Regions from separate parts of the Homo sapiens genome. Here region 2 is linked to region 1. Evidence: promoter capture Hi-C in 16 types of primary human blood cells and fetal thymus (Javierre and others, 2016). All regions are on one chromosome and are shown on one strand. The core of a region is centred on a gene start or on the middle of the fragment in contact, and the rest is flanking DNA. Distances in the headings are between cores, read along the strand shown. Region 1 holds the start of TMEM158 (transmembrane protein 158). Region 2 overlaps LOC105377062 (a long non-coding RNA gene).

Evidence for each region. Contacts are between HindIII fragments. The CHiCAGO score rates a contact against its expected background, and 5 or more counts as called.
Region 2: a fragment that was not itself captured here is called in contact with the fragment with the promoter of TMEM158 in region 1 in 3 of 17 cell types (M1 macrophages, megakaryocytes and M2 macrophages); the score reaches 6.0 in M1 macrophages.

Annotation. Positions count from the first base shown.
Region 1 is chr3:45,223,930-45,229,790 of GRCh38, reverse strand. It overlaps TMEM158 (transmembrane protein 158), which reads left to right and starts at 3,504. Exons shown (of 1, transcript NM_015444.3): 1 at 3,504-5,325. The coding sequence starts at 3,764. The coding sequence ends at 4,666. RefSeq lists silencers at 3,258-3,597, 3,608-3,677. The HindIII fragment of the contact is 4,918 bases long and covers 2,408-5,861 here.
Region 2 is chr3:45,339,221-45,345,081 of GRCh38, reverse strand. It overlaps LOC105377062 (a long non-coding RNA gene), which reads left to right. Exons shown (of 3, transcript XR_940798.2): 2 at 2,061-2,230. Among named protein-coding and RNA genes, the nearest start is that of LARS2, 46 kb to the left of the region's middle. The HindIII fragment of the contact is 668 bases long and covers 1,813-2,480 here.

The DNA of each region.
Region 1 (5,861 bases), core at 2,255-4,754:
TCCAGCCTGGGTGACAGACTGAGACTCTGTCTCAAAAAAAGAGGAGTGATGGGGATGGTGGGAATGGGCATTGTTTATAGAGATTGGTCAGAACAGGCATCTCTGAGGAGCCGACATCTGAGCAGAGATCTACAGGAAGAGAGGGAGCAAGCAAGACAGGTATCAGAACACTGTCTCAGGCAGAGGAAAAAGCATGGGCAAAGGCCTTGAGTCGAGTTTTCTTGGTGTGTTCATGAAACAGCAGGGAAGTCAGGATGTCTGGAACAGAGCAGGTGAAGAGAAGAAGGGAAAGTAGGAGAAGATGGATCAGAGAGGTGGCCAGAACCACAGCTTATGAACAGGTGTCAGCCGATAGCTCAGGCAGAGTTCTTTACCAGTAGGCAGACTCACTCAGTCAGCCAACACGAGCATGGACCACCCTTTGCCCTGGCTGGCCCTCCAGGTCCCTGCCGAGCTGGAGGGAGGACCACAAAGAGATCATGGTTGAGAAAGGTGGTGAGACTTCAAATTTTCCTCTTTTTTTTTTTTTGGTAGAAGTAACATTTGCACATTTTAGATAATATGAAAAAAATGCAGAAAAGAATAATGATGCAGAGGCAGAAAAGTAAAGACATCAGGTAGCTGGGATTAGAATTGTTTCCTCCCTGCTTTCCAACCTTTGTATAAGGCTGTTATATTTATAAAAAATACATCTTTAAAAAGGAACTCAACTGAAAGTTTATTTTATCAAAATAAAATAGAATTGTACCACATACTTGTTTAACTTATGCACAGACCTTGATGCCTACTGCCATGAGATGAGATGCCTCTAGTTCTTTATTTAAAAAAAAAATGAACTTTTCAGATGAGGGAGACTGTACTGATATCCTGGCTTTGCCACTAACTGCTGTGGGACCTCAGGTAGGTGATTCACCTTCTCTGAGCCTCAGTTTTCTCATGGTAAAATAGGCATCACATCCATGGGATTGTTGTGAAGATTAGAGATGATGTGTGTGTATGTGTCAAACACCTGGCACGTGGAAAGTACTAAACAAGCGGAAGCTAGTCAGAGGTAGGCAAATTTGTTCAATCAAGAAGTATTGGCCGGCCACGGTGGCTCATACCTGTAATCCCAGCACTTTGGGAGGCCAAGGCAGGCGGATCACTTGAAGTCAGGAGTTTGAGACCAGCCTGGCCAACATGGTGAAACCCCGTCTCTACTAAAAATACAAAAATTAGCCAGACGTGGTGGCGCATGCTTGTAGTCCCAGCTACTCAGGACGCTGAGGCAGGAGAATGGCTTGATCCTGAGAGGCGGAGGTTGTAGTGAGCCGAGATCGAACCACTGCAGTCCAGCTTGGGTGACACAGCAAGACTCTATCTCAAAAAAACAAACAAACAAAAATGTATTTACTGAGCCTCTACCCTGAGCTAGGTGCTTTTCCCGTTGCTGGGAACAGTAGTAAACAAGATAGAAAATAACTTCCTCGCTATCTTCTGTTCTCAAATTCCAAAAAGATAGCAAATCAATCTAGAAAGTAGGATCTGTGTTACTATTTGAAGGGTAATTACATTCTGAATGAGGGCGAGGTGACGGAGTCCTCAGGACGGCACCTGCTGGAAAAGTGGGCAGAATGCAGGTTGCTAGGATGCAGAGCTTCAGTGGCGCAACTTTGCAGGGAACTGCTTGGCTCCCCAAATAGATCTCTTGTCTTTTCCCTTTGCTGCTGCCTTCCCCCCTGCACAGACAAAGCCAGGAGTGTCTCAGGAAAGCTCAGGAAGCCTCTGCCTCTGACTGAAACCCCAGAGAATGTCATCTGCAGTCACAGGCAACAGCCTGGCTCAAAACGCACCCCTTGAAGATTAGGCCTCCCTCAGCCCTCAGGATCACTTGATATTCCTGTTCTTCAGGGTTCACCAGACACATGGCTTAAATTAAAACTGTTCTGCCACATCACTGAGCAGCTTCTGTTCCTGATATGCAAAGGTTGAAAGGAGAAGTCATTTTTATTAAAAGCAGGAAAATTCACATTGTTCTCCCTGGTAGCACCACTTCCAAGCACAAAAGTGATGGAGGCTGAAACGAAAAGGGAGTCCCATCCCCTTGGGGAAATGAACCATTTCTGTAGAAACCAAGGACCACTCTAGGCAGCCAACTTGGGCAGCACTGTTAGTAACCACATCACAGCAACCACCATGTGGGAACATCTGGGGACAGATAGACACTGGGTTGGGAGTATTATCACAGCAGCCCTGTGAGGAGGTACCACCCACCCCCCAACTCAGATGGGGAAACCAAGGCTAAGTCAGAATAATGGCTTGCTTAGATGGCAAGAGGTGGAATAAGTTGGGGAGCTTTATTTTGAGGCGTTTTTGCAACTTTCTCAGTCCCATTTTACTCATTGTTAGAAAACAATGGACAAAAGCTTCCAGAAAAGTAATCAGCCAGGATGCCTAGCAATGTAGCTGGACTCTTGGCAGACCTCTCAGGATTAGCTGGTTTAGAAGGAAGGCGGTTTTGTTGAGGCCTTTCTCTGCTCCCTCCACCCCTCCCCTCTCCGAATCAGGAATACTTGGTGCTCATGGAGTACAAGGGCTTCCAACTAAAATAAAATAGATAATAATTCAACATAAATGTCCCCTAAAGAACGATGGGAATGATGAAGGGTCGTTGAAGTTTGTTTCCAAGTGTGAGGGGCCGAACTACTAAGAAAGTGCTTTTCAATATAAATGTGATAAATCTGATCTCTTGACACGTTATTCTTGGTAGCCCTCCTCCCGTATAATATCCCAAAGGGGATGAACTGCCCCTTTGACGTGGGTTCTAACCTACAACTGTTTCATGAACACGCGCTCACTCGACCTGTCAGGACCTGTGTCCTCGGGACCCCCAGGCGGCACAGCTTCAGGGCTCACATTCCCCCCAGCCAGTCACTCTCCACTCGAAACTCCACAGAGTTCTTGGAATTTTCCTCGCTTGCTGCGAGGAGAATCCCAAGTGAGTCTGCTGTGTTGGAGCCATTAAAAAGCAGCCAAACTCTACAGATTTGAGGTAAGAGACACCGTAAAAAGGCAGAAAGAGCTAGTGGCGCGGACTTGTTTCTGGCTCATGAGTTGGCCTAGCGAGGCCCTTTCCCCTCTCTCGACCTCAGTTTCCCCTTCTGTAAAACAAAGGAGGTTCGGTAGCACTAAGGCGAGACAGCGAAGCTCCCCTCAGGCCTGACAAAAGGATGGTCTCCGGGCCCTGGAGCCTCCCTCTGAGAACGCGATTCACCCGGAGCGCGGGGGCGCCCGGGCGCGTCCGCAGGCTTCCCCGCCCGCCCGCACGCACCCCGGGCGATCCGCTCTCCGCCGCGCCCCCGCACCCAGCCCCGCCCCGGCGATTCCTCTCCCAGCCCCGGCGCGTGGAACCCCGCCCTCCCCTGAGTCCCCGAGCCTGGCGAGCGGAGGGCGGGGCGGGGCGGGGCACGCGGGAGGCGGAGCCGAGCCGGGGAATCCTGCTCTGGGATAGCACCCGGCCCCGCAGAGCAGCGCGGCAGCCCAAGGGCCCCGGCGCCGGGGGCGGCGGGGAACCCCAAACGCAACCGGGTCTGGAGGGATCCCCGCGCCGAGCCAGCCGCCGTCACCGCCTCCGCGCCGCCCCTGCGGGCTTGGCAGGCGCCCGGCGCGCCCGCACTGCGCCCGGCCGCCGGCTCCCGCGGTCCCACCGTGAGCTCGCCGGCCCGTCGCCCGCTCGCCATGCAACCGCCGCCGGCCTCGCGCGCGTAGGCGCCCGCCGCAGGCCATGCTGCCCCTGCTCGCCGCGCTCCTGGCCGCCGCCTGCCCGCTGCCGCCCGTCCGCGGCGGGGCCGCGGACGCGCCCGGCCTCCTCGGGGTGCCCTCCAATGCTTCAGTCAACGCGTCCTCCGCGGACGAGCCCATCGCCCCGCGGCTGCTGGCCTCGGCGGCCCCCGGGCCCCCCGAGCGCCCGGGCCCGGAGGAGGCGGCGGCGGCGGCGGCGCCGTGCAACATCAGCGTGCAGCGGCAGATGCTGAGCTCGCTGCTCGTGCGCTGGGGCCGCCCGCGGGGCTTCCAGTGCGACCTACTGCTCTTCTCCACCAACGCGCACGGCCGCGCTTTCTTCGCCGCCGCCTTCCACCGCGTCGGGCCGCCGCTGCTCATCGAGCACCTGGGGCTGGCGGCGGGCGGCGCGCAGCAGGACCTGCGCCTCTGCGTGGGCTGCGGCTGGGTGCGCGGTCGCCGCACCGGCCGCCTCCGGCCCGCCGCCGCCCCCAGCGCCGCCGCCGCCACCGCCGGGGCGCCCACCGCGCTGCCAGCCTACCCCGCGGCCGAGCCGCCCGGGCCGCTGTGGCTGCAGGGCGAGCCGCTGCATTTCTGCTGCCTAGACTTCAGCCTGGAGGAGCTGCAGGGCGAGCCGGGCTGGCGGCTGAACCGTAAGCCCATTGAGTCCACGCTGGTGGCCTGCTTCATGACCCTGGTCATCGTGGTGTGGAGCGTGGCCGCCCTCATCTGGCCGGTGCCCATCATCGCCGGCTTCCTGCCCAACGGCATGGAACAGCGCCGGACCACCGCCAGCACCACCGCAGCCACCCCCGCCGCAGTGCCCGCAGGGACCACCGCAGCCGCCGCCGCCGCCGCCGCTGCCGCCGCCGCCGCGGCCGTCACTTCGGGGGTGGCGACCAAGTGACCCGCTCCGCTCCTCCCTGTGTCCGTCCTGTGTCCGCGCGCGCGGGTGCCTTTCCCGCCGGAGACTCGGCCGGTGTGCTTCGTGCTGTAGTTATCGTTAGTTCCTCTTCCCGAGATGGGGCCGCCGAGAGACCCCAGCGCCTTTGAAAAGCAAGGTTTGTGCTGCGCTTCCAGTTCCGAAAAGCAGATGTTTAAGCCCTTGGACTGAGGGTGGGATCGCAGCTCCGAAGACGGAGAGGAGGGAAATGGGGCCCTTTCCCCTCTATTGCATCCCCCTGCCCGACTCCTTCCCCGCACCCACGTGCCCTAGATTCATGGCAGAAAATGACCAAATCCTGTGTATTTGTTTTATATATTTAATAACTGTTTTAAATGAAAGTTTTAGTAAAAAAAATACAAAACAAAAAGATTAAATTGCTATTGCTGTAGTAAGAGAAGCTCTTTGTATCTGAACATAGTTGTATTTGAAATTTGTGGTTTTTTAATTTATTTAAAATTGGGGGGAGGGCATGGGAAGGATTTAACACCGATATATTGTTACCGCTGAAAATGAACTTTATGAACCTTTTCCAAGTTGATCTATCCAGTGACGTGGCCTGGTGGGCGTTTCTTCTTGTACTTATGTGGTTTTTTGGCTTTTAATACAGACATTTTCCTCCAGAGATGTGTATGTAGCTTTTTCTTTATTTGATTTGGGAAAGGGAATCCCAGAATTGCAAGACGTTACCCTAAAACCTGAGCAAGGGAATCTCGGAAAAGTTAGAGAAGGGCTACTTCTGTCTCCTTTACCTGGCTGTGAGAGATAGATGGAAACAGTATTATTTGCCCTGATGGCGATTGTCTTGCATCTCACCACACTGACCCTCAGTTCCCATCCACCCCCCACCTGTCACGGTGGCAAACACAGTTTTATATGATTTAACTTTTTGCTCATTGTTCTAAGCTCTGCAAAACACCCAGGCAAGCATCAAAATGGTAAAATCAATAGTTCCTCTGAGCTGGATGGCTTTCACGAAAATGACTCACTTTAAAAGGCATGTAGATTTCTTTTCATATGCATGAACTTTAGCAGATAAGCACATTCCAAAAGCTGGTATTAAAACCTGAGATATTATTTTGGCATTTAGATTTTTTAAAAAGATAAACTCTTGGGGGATAAATAGTTAATGATCACAAGATTTTCCTCACTCTTGGTT
Region 2 (5,861 bases), core at 897-3,396, 120 kb before region 1:
ATCATCCTCAAATTTAGTGGCATAAAACATCAGCTGTTTATTATGTTTGTCGATTCCATGGGTCAAAATTTGGACAAGGCATGGTGGGATAGCTGGTCTCTGCTCCATGATGTCTGGGACCTCAGTTGGTGTCTTAGTCTACTCGGGCTGTCATAACAAAATACTATAGACTTGGCGGCTTAAATAAAAGAAATTGATTTTCTCACAGTTCTGGAGGCTGGAAGTCTGACAACAGGCAGTCAGCCTGACTGAGTTCTGGTGAGGGCTCTCTTCCTGGCTTGTAGACAGCCACCTTCTCATTGTGTCCTCGCATGGGCTTTCCTCAGTACATGCATGTGGAGAGGGAGAGAAAGCCATCTGGTAGCTCTTCTTATAAGAGCACTAATCCCATCATGAATGCCCCACTCTCAGGACCTCATCTAACCCGAATCACCTCCCAAAAGGGCCATCTCCAAATACCATTACGTTGGGGGTTGAGGCTTCAACGTATGAATTTGGGGGCGGTTACAAACATTCAGTTCATAAGAGCTGACAGCTGGGAAGCCTCAAATGGCTGGGGGGTGGTATCACCTAAGTGCCTTTTTACTGTGTCTGGCACCTTGAGTGGAATGGCTTAAATGACTGGGGGTTTATTCTCATTCTTTCTGTCTTTCTTCTTCCACATGGTGGCTCAGGGCTCTAAGAGCAAGTGTTTCAGCAAACAAGACAGAGTCCAGAGATCTTTTAGGCCATGGCCTCAAATGTCAAATGGCATCACTTCTGTTATAGTCTATGGTCAAAGCAGTTACAATCCTGCCCAGATTCAAGAGAAGCATCTTGGGCTACATGGGCTCTAGTTCTAAGGGAGAAGTATCAAAAACTTGTGGCGTTCTGTTAAAACTACCACAAGGGGTCCCTCTTTCTCACAAAGTCCTTACAATCCCAGGAAAGGACTCTGATTGGCCTCACTGGGGTCCAAGGACAACCTCTGGACCAATCACCATCAGTATGTTGATTTAGTGCCCTGAGTGGCCAGTCTCAGGTATAAGCTCCACCTTGTGCCATTTGATGGATTGTGTGACCTTGGAGGAAGAGGGTTTGGCTACGGAGTGCTTATGAAATTGACAGGAATCTTTGAGTTCATGGCAAGAGTCCATCAGCCTTTAAATGATGAAATGTACAGATTATTTTTTACCATTGTCTACTGGTAAAAATCAAGGAAGAAGGATAACTTGAGGCAAATAGCACTAAAACTGTACCCAAGCACTAAAACTGTACCTCACCCCTACCACTGCCTGCTCTTTGCTTGCGAGGACCAGGCAGGGAATTGGTCACCACATTCCCAGCCTCTCTCAACTTCCTGTCAATTCTCACCTCCACCTGGTGTCTCTCTCTCTCTCTTCTCCTCTTTCTCCAATCCAGCTCACCCTTTGCCAGACTTCACTTCCTGAAATGTGTCTTCTGCTTAGGTTGTTCCGCGACCCAAACTCCTGAGTAGGTCATTCAAAGCCAATCAAGGCCTGGCCCCAATTTACCTTTCTGACTCTATCTCCTGGAGCTCATCTGTGGGAACCCCTACCTACAGTCAGGCAGATCCTGAGAACACGCCTCGTGTTCTACCTCTGCTAACTTCGCCTGCCTTTCTGCACACCTGCACCTGAGCCAGCCTTCAAGGTCCAACTTCAGATCACCATCTCCTTGACACCATTCCTGATCACCCCAGACTTTGGGGTTTTACTCCTTCCCTAAACAAGTGCACTACATGCTATGTCCATTTCTGGTCTCTGTGTTTGTCTTCTCCATCCCATTCCCGCCAGATCCCCCTGGCAAGCTTGGTGTCCCCAACCCAGGAAGAATTATCCCCTGAAGCAGAAGGAATTTAAGAAACTTCAGGGATTCAGTATTAAGTTGCTTTTGTTGTTCAGCTCTGACTAGTGTGTCCCAGTACTGATAACTGGGTTCCTAACTTGTGTCCTGCAATAATAATGACATCCAACATTTCCAAGCATGGCCTAAGTGCTTTGATATATCCCCTTATTTAATAATAAAAACAATGCTAGTATTTTTTCCCCATTTTACAGAGGCAACTGAGACACAAAGAAGTTAAGTAATCTGTCCCCATTCAAGAGAGAGAACATGGGCTCCACCTCTTGATGAGGGAGTGGCAAACTTTAGGAGAGCATGTGGGACCAGAAACATTGTCGCAACCATTTGTAGAAAATACAGTCTAACACATCATACTCTCCTTCAGGTAATTTTATTTTCAGATAATTACTTTTTATTTTCAGATAATTTGAGAATTATAGAAGAGAGTTGTAAGGATGGTACAGAAAATTCCTGTAGGCCCTTCATCAAAGTTCCTCTAGTATTAATAACATCTTACATCCTCATGGTACACTGCTCAGGGCACATTCAGTCATTATATCTCCCAGTGTCCTCTGATCTGGGCAGTGTCTGGGCCTTTCCCTATCTTTTCTGACCATGATACTTTTGAAGAAGCTTGGGTCAGGTGTATACTCTCACTTTGAAAAAGCACACAAATCTCATGTTCAGCTTTAAGGATGTATGAAATTTTAAAAGTCAATAAAATTCCATGACCGCAGTGAAAATAGTTCTCGTATTGTATGCTCTTCCCATCATATATGACTGTCTAAAGATTGCGAACTCCTTGCCTGAGGCATATAAACCCTCTTTCTTACATGGAAAACAGCTCCTAGGCTGATCTGAGCTTCTGTTTCCACATCCAATAATAAAGGGGTAGTGGGGTGGACTACATAATCTACACTCTCTGCCTTGGCTCTAAAAGTAGATTTCATAAACTAAATTTCATGGACTTAAAAATAGAATTTTTGCTCCTTAATTCTTGATCAAATTTCTACCTTAATTTTAAGGGAAACACAATTAAATCAATATCTTTTCAAGTCTAAAACCTACACTTTTTCTGTCTCTGGGCATTCCTCTCCCCGTCTCTCCACTTCACCAGGCTCAAGACTGTGGGAGGACAGCGGGTGAGCTCAGGAGTCATCATCCCCCAGCCACCAGTGTGCCACCAGCTTTAAGGAAGCATTCAGAGCAGTTCTGATGAGTGAATGGCATCTCTTTCAGATGGACTACCCCGTTTGCCTCCTCACTGCTCTGTTTCTGATGCAAGTTTACTAACTTACATAACTTCCAAGTGCATTTTTCCCTCTAAAATTACACAGTCAGGTCCTCCAGGGCAGTGACCTGGGGCACTATTTCCTTTCCCTGCCCACACTGTGTCCACTTTAGGGGTGGTCAGGGAATATGCAATGACCTACTCACTCCTTGGGTATCAGCAAGACTCGTTCTGGGTATCTCCTAGTAAAATAATTTTTCATTCATTCATTCAACAAATGTTTTTAGACACCTATTATATGCCAGGGGCTGTTCTAGCTGCGAGGCCCTATTCTGTTGGGGATAGGATGTCCAACCTCTCAGATATTTGATATTTGAACATTGCTCTGGAAAATCCCCATCAATTGCTGGCTAAATGTATTGGAAGGATAAAATGGGGTATACATGGTGGCAAAGCAATGTGTGTCTGGGTTTAAGAATAAACAACAGGTTGTTTTATTCCAGGTGAAATATACTATGGGTTTTGCTTGCTCTTTGGTCTTGGATTGATGAGTTTTGCTATGCTTTTGACTCAAATGGCCTGTTCCTAGGTGCAAGGAGAGCCTAGAAATGTAATAAAGGTAAAATGAGGTCTCTGGGTTTAGAATCCATGTACTTTAGAGCAAGACAATTAAACCCAGTGATTTTAGATGGGGCTGGGAGGCTCATCACAGAACCAGCTTTGATTAGAGCTGCTCATTGTGCTCTGCCTTCCTTGAAACCAAAGGGTGCAATTTGGAAGTCACTGGACATCAGGAGACTCCCAGTGCTTCTAGAAACTTACCATCTCTTCCAGTTCTGCATCCCCTGTTCAAATGTCCTGTCAGCCACACCCTGACACACTCCAGCTTCCCTCGGCCTCTAGGTGGATGGGGACAGGACAAACCACACTTCTGAAGTCTTGATGCTGCAGGGATGCTCATTTTACTGTCTCTCAGCTTCAGAGAGAAACCCTTTCCTTTTCAAATAGGATCCAACTGTTTAAGAAAAAACATCTATTGAACTTTGTCTCTTCCTTTGGTCTCTTGGAAAGATGGATTTAGGTTTTGATTCTATCAAAACGAGGAATTGGCCTTATTCTGTAAGATCAGAGATTGGAGGGATTTCTCTTTCCTTTTCTTTTTCTTTTTTTTTTTTTTTTCATTTTTTAAACCCTAAGGGGCAGGTACTGACTGTCAAGAGAGCCACATCTGACTGCAGACTCCCCAGCGTGGCACCGGCTCTCCTGTGTGCAGACCTCAAGTACAGGTAGCCTGTGCTCCCTATCTGCAAGGGGCCGAGGCCCAGAGCCCATCTCAGAGGTCTGGGATTCAGCTGCCATGGGGTACATTCCAGGAGGTGCCATTCACATTATCATCCATGATGAGGTGATGCTGAGCCTGACAGATAAGAAAAGGGTCCCACTCTCCAACAGGCACTTGAAGCTCCAAAGACCTAGATTATTTAATGGAAGGAGGTAGTGTTGCTCCTGCGTCTAAACTGCTGTGTGACCTTCAGCATGGCGCTGAACCTCTCGGACCTGTGTTTCACCCATAAAGTATGGGGTTGAGCCAGACTGGCCTCCTGTTAGGTGCAGGCACAGGCAGGTTCCCTCTTCTTCAAACTGATGCTGACACAGCAAGAGGCCATTACATTAAGGGTTCCATCTTGACCAAATTTGCTTGGCCCCATTATAAAACATAGGTAAAATGTTTCCCTCTCACAAGCACTAAGGAGCATAAAGCTTCCCTTTTTCTTGCTTTTTTTTTTCTTAAATAGCAATAGCCACCAAAATGATACTTTGCATTGAAAATAGAAGGAAGTTGGGAGTGCAAGAGTGTCTGGAGGAGGGTACCAGGAATGAAAGATACATTTGCAAATGTAGTAAGAGGTGACTGGGTGTGATGCACGACTGCTGTTTGCTTGCTGGCTGGCATCCATCCCTCTTTCTCCACTATTGGGAGCTGATAGTGGTGGTGAACTGGCCTGTTTCTCCCGACCCTATCCACCTCTCCACCCCAGATACTGAGCCCTGCACCTTCATGCCTTAATTACTTTGAAATACTTCTTTACAATCACACACCCGATGACTCCCTTCATCATGCTGAATTCTAAATTGCGTTTGAAGTAGCTTCTCCAATGTTAGCCCTCTGATTAGCTTCTTTCTGAGCTCCAAAATGAGGGTAATCAGAGTGGAGGAAAGATTTTACTGCATGTGCTAGGAGGGCGGAGAGGGCAGGGGAGCTCTCCATCACAATTTTCTAATAAGACTTTAAGAGCTTTTAAAAAGTAGGCTCATATCACCCCGCAGGCCTGTGGTCACTCTTCCCCTCATCCCTTCGGGAACACCAGTTCTCAGGATCATCCTCTGCATCTGACTGCACTGCCTTTAGCATTTCCTTCAGCCCTGGTCTCTCCTCTTCTGAGATTACACTTTGTTCCTGAGATTAGGAAAGTGATTATAGCCCTGTTGTCAAGTCACATCCAGCCAGCCCCTACAATCTAGATCAGCTTGACTCAACTCCCCCACTGCACAGCCTGTGGAAGCCCAAAGGCCCCTTCCAAGTTTTCTGAGGATTTCCAAGTGGGGTCTGGCTTTTCCATGGTCATGTCTTCCCAGACATGGGAAGATTTCTAGGGAAGCTAATGAAGCTTCAACTCAAGGCACTTACTTGTGGGAGGTCCCCAGCAAAGTGTTCATGTAGTTGTGTTGTTTTGTCCAATTTGCAATATTTTAATATTCTTTTCCCTTAAGAGGATCTCACCAG